2 separate regions of the Homo sapiens genome follow, and region 2 is linked to region 1. The links are contacts of gene promoters, found by promoter capture Hi-C in human tissues and cell types (Jung and others, 2019). All regions are on one chromosome and are shown on one strand. The core of a region is centred on a gene start or on the middle of the fragment in contact, and the rest is flanking DNA. Distances in the headings are between cores, read along the strand shown. Region 1 holds the start of ZNF84 (zinc finger protein 84). Region 2 has its middle 13 kb from the start of ZNF268.

Evidence for each region. The method cuts DNA at HindIII sites, captures the fragments that hold promoters and counts their contacts. A contact is called where the count stands out against the background at its distance.
Region 2: a fragment that was not itself captured here is called in contact with the fragment with the promoter of ZNF84 in region 1 in 8 of the 25 tissues and cell types used here (IMR-90 fibroblasts, bladder, dorsolateral prefrontal cortex and 5 more).

What each region holds. Positions count from the first base shown.
Region 1 is chr12:133,035,351-133,040,036 of GRCh38, forward strand. ZNF84 (zinc finger protein 84) reads left to right here and starts at 2,159. Exons shown (of 5, transcript NM_001289971.2): 1 at 2,159-2,195. ZNF84-DT (ZNF84 divergent transcript) reads right to left here and starts at 1,872. Exons shown (of 3, transcript NR_110091.1): 1 at 1,419-1,872. RefSeq lists an enhancer at 1,776-1,865 and a silencer at 2,086-2,265. The HindIII fragment of the contact is 8,441 bases long and covers 1-4,686 here.
Region 2 is chr12:133,165,964-133,170,649 of GRCh38, forward strand. No RefSeq gene overlaps it. Among named protein-coding and RNA genes, the nearest start is that of ZNF268, 13 kb to the right of the region's middle. The HindIII fragment of the contact is 6,555 bases long and covers 1-4,686 here.

The DNA.
Region 1 (4,686 bases), core at 909-3,408:
TTCTGGTGAGGGATTGTCTCAAAAAAAAAAAAAAAGAAGAAGAAGAAGTTGTGAAACCATGCCCCCAAATAGTTAAAGAAACCAGTGACTAACGAATTTTTTTTTTTTGAGATGGAGTCTCGCTCTTGTCGCCCAGGCTGGAGTGCAGTGGCGCGATGTCGGCTCGCTGCAATCTCCACCTCCCAGGTTCAAGCGATTCTCCTGCCTCAGCCTCCCGAGGAGCTGGGATTACAGGTGTGCACCACCACGCCCAGCTAATTTTTGTATTTTTAGTAGAGACAGGGTTTCACCATGTTGGCCAGGCTGGTCTCGAACTCCTGACCTCAGGTGATCTGCCCGCCTCGGCCTCCCAAAGTGCTAGGATTATAGGCGTGAGCCACCGCGTCCGGCTAACAGAAATTCTTGAGCTTACAGGATGGCAGATAAGAAACAGTTTGCTGAAACTCCGTTTGTAATATAATACAACTGGCTGAAATCAGTTGAAACCAATATAACCAAACGGAGTCCATGCAGAATGAGCTTGCTGATGTCGCAGCCTGAATTTCCACTGCACTTTTCACACTAACTCTACCTTAATTTGCACATGGGACCCAAGAAGAGGCTTGAAGAGACAACTGCACATGGTCGGGGACTTTCCAGACTTCCTTTTTCCTTCACCATTCACCTGTGAATCCCAGAATCCACCCTCTAAACCTTTTTTCACAATAGTGCTGCCTTAAGGGCAGCACAGAGAGATAGATTTGAACTAAACTCCTGTCACTTTGTTGGTCAACTCGCAATTAAGCTTTTCTTTTCTCAAACGCCTGGTGCCATAGTATTGGCTTCTGTGCACATCGGGCAATGAGGTCTTTTGCGTAGCAGTATTTGGATATCCGGTTTCCTCACGCTATTTATTGAAGCGACTGTCCTTTCCCCATCGTGTATTCTTGACACAAGATTAGTTGACTTGCCTAAGATTAGTTGACTGTATATGCATGGGGTTATTTCTGGTTTTTCTACGCTGTTCCACATTGGTCCATGCGTCTGTTTTTATGCTAGTACTTCACTGGTGAGTTCTACCTCTGGGAATAAATATAAGAATTCTCTAATCACTGGATGTTTGAAGCAATTCACTAAGCAACTCATTATGATGCTTTCTGGCAAAGGATCTCTGAATTTGTCTTCAAATTGTGGATAAAATTGGGTCAAATTTGGCCCATGTTGTCCTGGAGAATCATTTGTGTCACAAATTATCAAATTTATTAGTATAGAGCGGATTTTCATTCAATTTCCTATGTGTCTATGGTTATTTCTCTTTTTTCATCTCTCTCCTCCATCTCCCCGGCCCCATCTTGCTGTCATAAGCATCGTGACTTACCTATAATTCTCCCTACGACTCCAGTTATGGATCAACTTTACTTTTTTCTGTTAATTCTTACCTTCTTTCCATAAATATATTTAAATTTTTTCTGGTTTCCTCAACTGAAGTCAAACCAATTGAGTATTGGTGGGCCGGGCGCGGTGGCTCACGCCTGTAATCCTAGCACTTTGGGAGGCCAAGGCGGGCGGATTGCCTGAGCTCAGGAGTTCGCGACCAGCCTGGGCAACACGGTGACTCCCCGTCTCTACTAAAATACAAAAAAATTAGCCGGGCGTGGCGGCGGGCGCCTGTAGTCCCAGCTACTCGGGAGGCTGAGGCAGAAGAATGGCGTCAACCCGGGAGGCGGAGTTTGCAGTGAGCCGAGATCACGCCACTGCACTCCAGCCTGGGTGACAGAGCGAGACGCCGTCTCAAGAAAATATATATATATATTGGTGGATTCGGTTTCCCTTTATGTTTCTCAGAAAACCGTGTGAGCCCGTTTGGAGTCACTCCGTCTCCAAGCGACAGGCACTTCCGGACGCGGGGCACTGTGGGAAGTTGAGTTCGCGGGGCTCCTTCCTTCGCGCATGCGCACATGCACTCTTGGTAATGCTTGCAGGTGGCCCGTTCTTCCTCTTTGTCCTTCGCTGCCACGTGAGAGGGGAGTGTACGCGTGTGCGCGCGTGCGAGTGTGCGCGTGTGCAGTCCCCGACTCGTCCCGGCCCGTTCGGAGCCGCCCGGGAGCGCACAAAGGCCGACGGTTTGGGCGCGTGCGCGGGACACGGGGGACGGGCGGTGTCACGTGATCGCGAGGCCGCGGGCGCGCGGGCGCGACTCGGCGGCGGCGTCTTTTGTGAGTTCAGTGAGTTTATTGCGGGCCCGGCGCTGGGGGCTCCGGGAATGGCGGGGGAGGCGCGCGGGAGTGGCCGCGGGGAGCTTCGGCTTCAAGGCCCTGGGCGTCCGCGCGCGGATGCGGGTCTGGGGCGGGTTGGGGCTGGGCCGGGTCGTGAAGATGCCGTGGGCCGCGGAGCTGCGCGGATTCTGGGCTGTGGGGCGGGCACGGCCTTTCCGGAGGCGCCGCTCCTGGGCGTCCTTTCAGGCGGGCGTGGAGGCGCCAGCCTCGGGCGCGTTTAGCCTCGGGCGCGTTTAGCCTCGACCTCGGGCCAGCCCGCTTGCCGCGCCGTGGCCCTAAGGAGCGGCTGCCCTGCTGGACCGCATCCACCAGCAGCCTGGCTCTGCCGCTATCGAAGGAGGCTTTTAAAGCGCTGGGGTTACAGGTGTGAGCCACCATTCCTGGCCGTGTATTTTTTAATGGTTATATTTATTGACTGTTTTAAATTTTTTAAGTGACTTTTGCTTTTGGTATGGTGTAGCGAAATCTCCCCTCAAATTATACATATATTCATTCACCTGTGGTTTTTTTTTGTAGACATTCTTAGGGTTTCCATTATTTTAAAATTTAACCCACTGAAAGTAGTTGTATGAAATAGCTACGTTTATTTTCTTTCAAATATTCTTGTATTCATTAAATAATTTAATTTTACTGATGGCTTTGAAATGCTACATTTATTGCATGCTGACTCTTGCATATTTAGACAGTTTGCTTTTTTTCATCTGTATAACTTCTCTGGAGCCAGTGTCAAATGTTATAATGATTATAATTTGTATGTATTACAGTGGGCCTGTTCACACTCATTATTTTGTATTTCCAAAAGCATCCAGGCCCGGTGTGGTAGGGCATGCCTGTAGCCCCAGCTACTCTGTAGGTTGAGGTAGGAGGATCACTTGAGCCCAGGAGTTCAGGGCTGCAGTGAGCTATGGTTATGCCATTGCACTTCAGCCTGGACAACACAGTAAGACCCTGTCAAAAAAAAAAAAAAAGTGTCCGAATTGTTCTTGAACCTTTTTTCTTACACATAAACTTTAGAATTTTGAGATTCTGATTGGAGTCGATGAGTTATATAAATCATTTGAGGTCAAATTATCTTCACAATCTGAAGTCTTCCTATCCCAGAATAAAATCGAATTATAAATTTCTTTAATTCTATTTTTATAGTTCTCATTGGTGTTTTTAGTATGCTTCATATGGGTCTTGATATTCCTACATATTTTATGTATTTTGTCAATTATGAGTCGGATTTTATTTTTTTGTTATTTTATGTGAGTTGTTTATATCTTACAGAAATAAGGTTATTGACCTGGAAAGATGTTCTTCACATAATGGGAAAAAAACAAAAACAGCTTTTAAATATGACCATATGCTTCCATTGTATGAAAAATATCACAATAGTTTCCATCATCCTAAGAATGGTTACCTGTGGTGAGATCATAGATAATAGTTCTTATTTAGCTTGTGTATGTTTTTTATATTTTGCCATCATATATTACTTTTATAATAATAATTATAGCTAGTATATGTTTCGTATGACTGTGTGCCAGCTTTTGTTCTAAGATTTATGTATTATCACAATTTAAGGTATAAAGGAGTCATTTCTTGTATAACTGGGAGAAACTGCTGTGTGTTTCTGAGTTGGCACTGAAGTTTGAACCACAAAAAGGCATGAAAAAGAAAGTGCTGCTTGTTAGTGTGATACAGTTGAGGCAGGGCGTCCTTCATTTATATTTTTGTGGGAATTAGTGACTGAATGTGTGCATGGGAATAGGAGCTGACTCCAGGATTTATGTTGTGTGTGTTTGTGCATGTAGATATGCACAAATGACAATATGACTTTAGTATTCATGCTTTGAACATAGCAGGATAGAGAATTAACATTTGAATTTTGCTACTTACTAAATGTGCAATCACAGGCACATTTTACAATCACTCATTGTCCCAGTTTTCTCTCTGTAAAATGGAGATTATGTTAAACGCCTTATAGGGTTGTGCATGAGTTAAATTTAAAATGCTTAGTATATTGTCTCACATACAGAAAGCACTGGAATGTTAGCTGTAACTGTTATTACAAGGCCCCAGTCGCTTTCCTTTTAACACCTCATTTGTTTCTTAGACTCCCATTGTGAGGTCCACTTTATCTTCACCATTTTAGCAAGTACAGAAATTGAGGCTTTGAAGGCAAGAAAGGAGGGGGGAAAAACAGTAACCACAATAAACATTAAATGTATTCAATTTGTCAGTTAAAAGACACACTGTTGGTTTGGATTTTTTTTTTTTTTTTGAGATGGAGTTTCCCTTTTGTTGCACCAGGCTGGAGTACAATGGCACGGGCTGCAACATCCACCTCCCAGGTTCAAGCAACTCTTCTGCCTCAGCCTCCCAAGTAGCTGAGCTTACAGGTGCATGCCACCACGCCTGGTTTATTTTTGTATTTTTAGTAGAGATGGGG
Region 2 (4,686 bases), core at 553-3,052, 130 kb after region 1:
TGCAAAACTCATGACCAATAGGAATTTAGAGAAGCATCTCTATGAGGGATTGTCTATGGCACGGGCATTGTTTTTTGAACTTACCGTAGCAATGTCTTGGTATGCATGCTTCAAACATTAGTCATTATGTCAGTTTCATTTCAAGATGGCCTTACTCTTGACTGGCAACAGACTGTTTTCCTACAAGTGTTTGGTAAGGATGTGAAGAAATTGGAGCCCCTGTACATTGCTGGTGGGAATGTAAAACGGTTCAGCCACTGTGAGAAACATTTTGGTGGTTTCTTGGAAAGGACAGAATTGCCCTATGACCCAATAATACCGCCACTGTGTATATACCCCAACGCATTGAAAATAGGGAGTCAAACAGATACTTTTATGCCAATATTCCTTGCAGAATTATTCATAATAGCCCAAAGGTGGATCAACCCAAATGTCCATCAACAGATAAATGGATAAACAAAATGGAGTATACAACAGGATTATCAGTCATAAAACAGAACCAAAGCTCTGGTACATGCAACAACATAGGTGATCCTGAAAAACATTATGCCAAATGAGATAAACCAGACACAAAGGGACAAATATTGTATGATTCCACTTATATGACCCAGGTCAAATAGGCAAATTCATGGAGACAGAAAGTAGATCAGAGGTTTCCAGGCAAATAGGGGGAATGGGGAGTTATTGCTAAATGAGTACCAGAGTTTCTGTTTGGCGTGATGGAAAAGTTTTGGAAATAGTGGTGATGGTTACACAACATTGTGAATCTAATTAATGTCATTGAATTGTATGCTTAGCGATAGTTAAAATGGAAGTTTTTATTATGTATATATATCCACAATGAGATAAAAAGAAATTTTAAAAATTTAAAGAGAGTAATTTTAAAATGTTAGAATTAGCCAATTTTACATCATATTGAATTTTGCATTTCAAGCATAGGCTAATTTCCCCTCACAATTATTTTGTCTGTGTGTGTGTGTTTGGGGGTGTTTTCAGGCCTTTAGTATATATTTATTGATAGTGATAGATGACAAGAAATTTTTATGCTAATGTGATTTATGAAAAACATTTTTAAAGAGAACTGGTTGTGGTGGCTCATGCCTATAATCCTAGTGCTTTGGGAGGCTAAGGTGGGAGGATCGCTTGAAGCCAGGAGTTCAAGACCAGCCTGGGCAACATAGGGAGACACCATTTCTACAAAAAAATTAAAAAATTAGCCAGGTATATATGTTATATATATTATATAATGTAGCATACATTATATAATATATATTATACAGGTGCACACCTGTATTCCTAGCTACTTAGGAGGCTGAGATAGGAGGATCACTTGAGCCCAGGAATTTGAGGTTACAGTGAGCTATGGTCGTGCCACTGAACTCCATCCTGCGTGATAGAGTGAGACCCTGTCTCTTTAATTTATTTTTAAAAGAACAGATGTAAGAAAGACCTTCTAAATATAAGGGTAAATAGAGGTGAAATGTAAGGAGAGGAAAAAATATATACCATGCATACAGTAACCAAAAAAAAAAAAAAGCTTGCATGGCTATATTAACATCAGACTATGGCAAGAAATATCATGAGAGATAGGAAAATTTTATAATAATAAATGGCAAACTCAACAGGAAAATCTAAATATCTCAAATAAATAGCTTGAGACATAAGCATATTCCACCCTGATTACTGTGACAACTTTCTGTAGTAGAGGATCTGCCAGTGCTCATCAAAACTGTTTGCTTTTTCCTCATTAGCAACTCTTTCCAAACACACCTTGAGTTACATGGAGTCAAGTGACCAAGTTCTGGCCATGGAATATGGGCTAAAATGGGATATACTGCTTTCAGTCATGTCCCATGTGATGAAGAATGAACGTTCTTTAGATTATTACACAAAGTGGGAAAGACTGTCAGGGAAACTTGAAAAAGAATTAGACATGAATAAAATATTACTTTGTATTTTCAGTGTAAATCTAGGCATTATTTAAAGCACTCTTCCATATTATATCTGCTTTTCATTGTCTTTGAGATGTTTTACAACCCTGTACTTTATCGAAAACTTGTAATATATTATTCTCCATAGAAATGCAAATATATTATGTCTAGTTGAATGCAATTCTTTAGTTTTGCATCTTTTTGTAAATTCACCCTCGTATTTCTTACCTATTTATCTGTGGTTCCTTGAATTCTTCTTTGGACTATTTACAACAGCTTACTGGTACACTCATTAAATAAGAAGGTAATTAAAATATTCGGCACATGTTTATTTTGTGTTTGTATGAGAGTCATGACTTTATCTTTTTTTTTTTTTTTTGAAACAGGGTCTCACTTTGTCACCCAGGCTGGAGTGCAGTGTCGTGATCACGGTTCACTGCAGTGTTGACCTCCCAGGCTCAGGTGATCCTCTTACCTCAGCCTCCTGAGTAGCTGGGACTATGGGTGGCACACCGCCATGCCTGGCTAATTTTTTTTTTGGTATTTTTTTGTAGAGACGGGGTTACACTATGTTGTCAAGGCTGGCCTCAAACTCCTGGATTCAAGCAATCCCCCCACCTTGGCCTCTCAAAGTTCTAGTATTACAGACATGAGCCACCGTGCCCAGCTGATTTTATATTTTTTAAAAAAATCTTGTGAAAGTTGCTTAAAACACCCTGTATAACTTCCACTGTCTCTCCCATCCACCATTTGCAAGCTGGATTTCAACATAAGAAATCTATCAGAATCATATACTGAAAGCAACAGACTCTGTAAACATGGGTCTCTGAATGATTGACTTTAGCAGAGATTCCCCCAACCCTCATTGCACTATGATATGTGAAAACATAAGGTACAAATTACATATCATAAAATGTAACCATTTAATGTATATAATTTCATTTTAAAACTATTTTTACAGGCCAGGCGCAGTGGCTCACACCTGTAATCCCAGCACTTTGGGAGGCTGAGGCAGGCGGATCACGAGGTCAGGATATCGAGATCATCCTGGCTAACACGGTGAAACCCCGTCTCTACTAAAAAAAAAATAACAAAAAATTAGCTGGGCATGGTGGCGGGCGCCTGTAATCCCAGCTACTCAGGAGGCTGAGGCAGGAGAAGGGCATGAACTCGGGAGGTGGAGCTAGCAGTGAGCCGAGATCTTGCCACTGCACTCTAACCCGGGCAACAGAGCGAGACTCCGTCTCAAAAAAAAAAACAGAGGAAAAAAGAAAAAAATTATTTTCACAGAATTGTGCAACCATCTCTATGATTTAATTTTAGGGCCTGCCGTGGTGGCTCACGCCTGTAATCCCAGAAATTTGGGAAACCGAGATGGGTGGATCACCTGGGGTCAGGAGTTCGAGACCAGCCTGGCCAACATGGTGAAACCCTGTCTCTACTAAAAATACACACACACACACACACACACACACACACACACACAGTCGGGCATGGTGGCACACCTATAATCCCAGCTACTCAGGAGGCTGAGGCAGGAGAATCGCTTGAACCTGGGAGCTGGAGGTTGCTGTGAGCTGAGATAGCACCACTGCACTCCAGCCTAGGTGACAGAGTGAGATTCTGTCTCCAAAAAAAAATTAATTTTTAGAACATTTTCATATACCCCCTCCCCAAAACTTCATATCCATTAGTAATCAGACTAGGCAACCAATAAGCTACTGTTTCTACAGATTTGCCTTCTGAGAACATTTCATGTAAATAGTATCATGCAATATGTGGTCTTATAAGACTTGCTTCTTCCATTCAGTATAATGTTTTGAGGTTTATTTGCTCAGGCATGTACCAGTACTTAAGTCCTTTTTTGCTTAATAGTGTTACATTGTATAGATATGTCTCATTTTGTTTTTCAAACATTAGTTGTTGGATATTTGGGTTGTTCCCACTTTTTGGCTATTATGAATAATGCTTCTGGTAACATTTATGTACATGTCTTTGTGTGAACATTTCTGTTTGTTTTTTTTTAAGAGATGGAAGTCTCACTCTGTCACTCATGCTGGAGTGCAATGGTGTAATCATAGCTCGCTGAAACCTCGAACTCCTGGGCTCAAGCAATCCTCCGCCACCTCAGCCACCCAAGTAGCTGGGACTACAGGCATGTCACCATACCTGAATATCTTTTCCCTTATCTTGGGTAATGAGCTTTGCTAAAGAGCACTTTGGGAGCCTGAGGCTGGAGGATCACTTGAGGCCAGGAGTTTGAGACCATCCTTGGCAACGTGGTGAGACTGTATCTCTCCAAAAAAAAAAAAAAAAGTCAGGCATGGTGGTGCATACCTGTAGTCTTAGTTACTTGGGAGGCTGAGGTGAGAGGATCACTTGAGCCCAGGAGTTTGAGGTTACCTTGAGCTATGATTATACCACTGCACTTCATCTGGGGCAACAGAGCAAGATCATGTTCCTAAAAATAAAAATAAAATATAATATAATATATAAAATTTTTTAAAGCCTGATTTTTTTTAAAGCCTGACATACTTTTTTTTAAAGAGACACCCAGGCTGGAGTACTGTGGCATGATCATAGCTCACTGCAGCCTCAAACTCCTGGCTCAAAGGATCCTCCTGCCTCAGCCTCCTGAGTAGCTGGGACTACGGGTATGCACCCCCACCCCAGCTAATTTAAACAAATTTTTTTTAGAGATGAGGTCTTCTCAAATTGTCCAAAGTGCTTTGGTGGCATTAGCCACCACACCCAG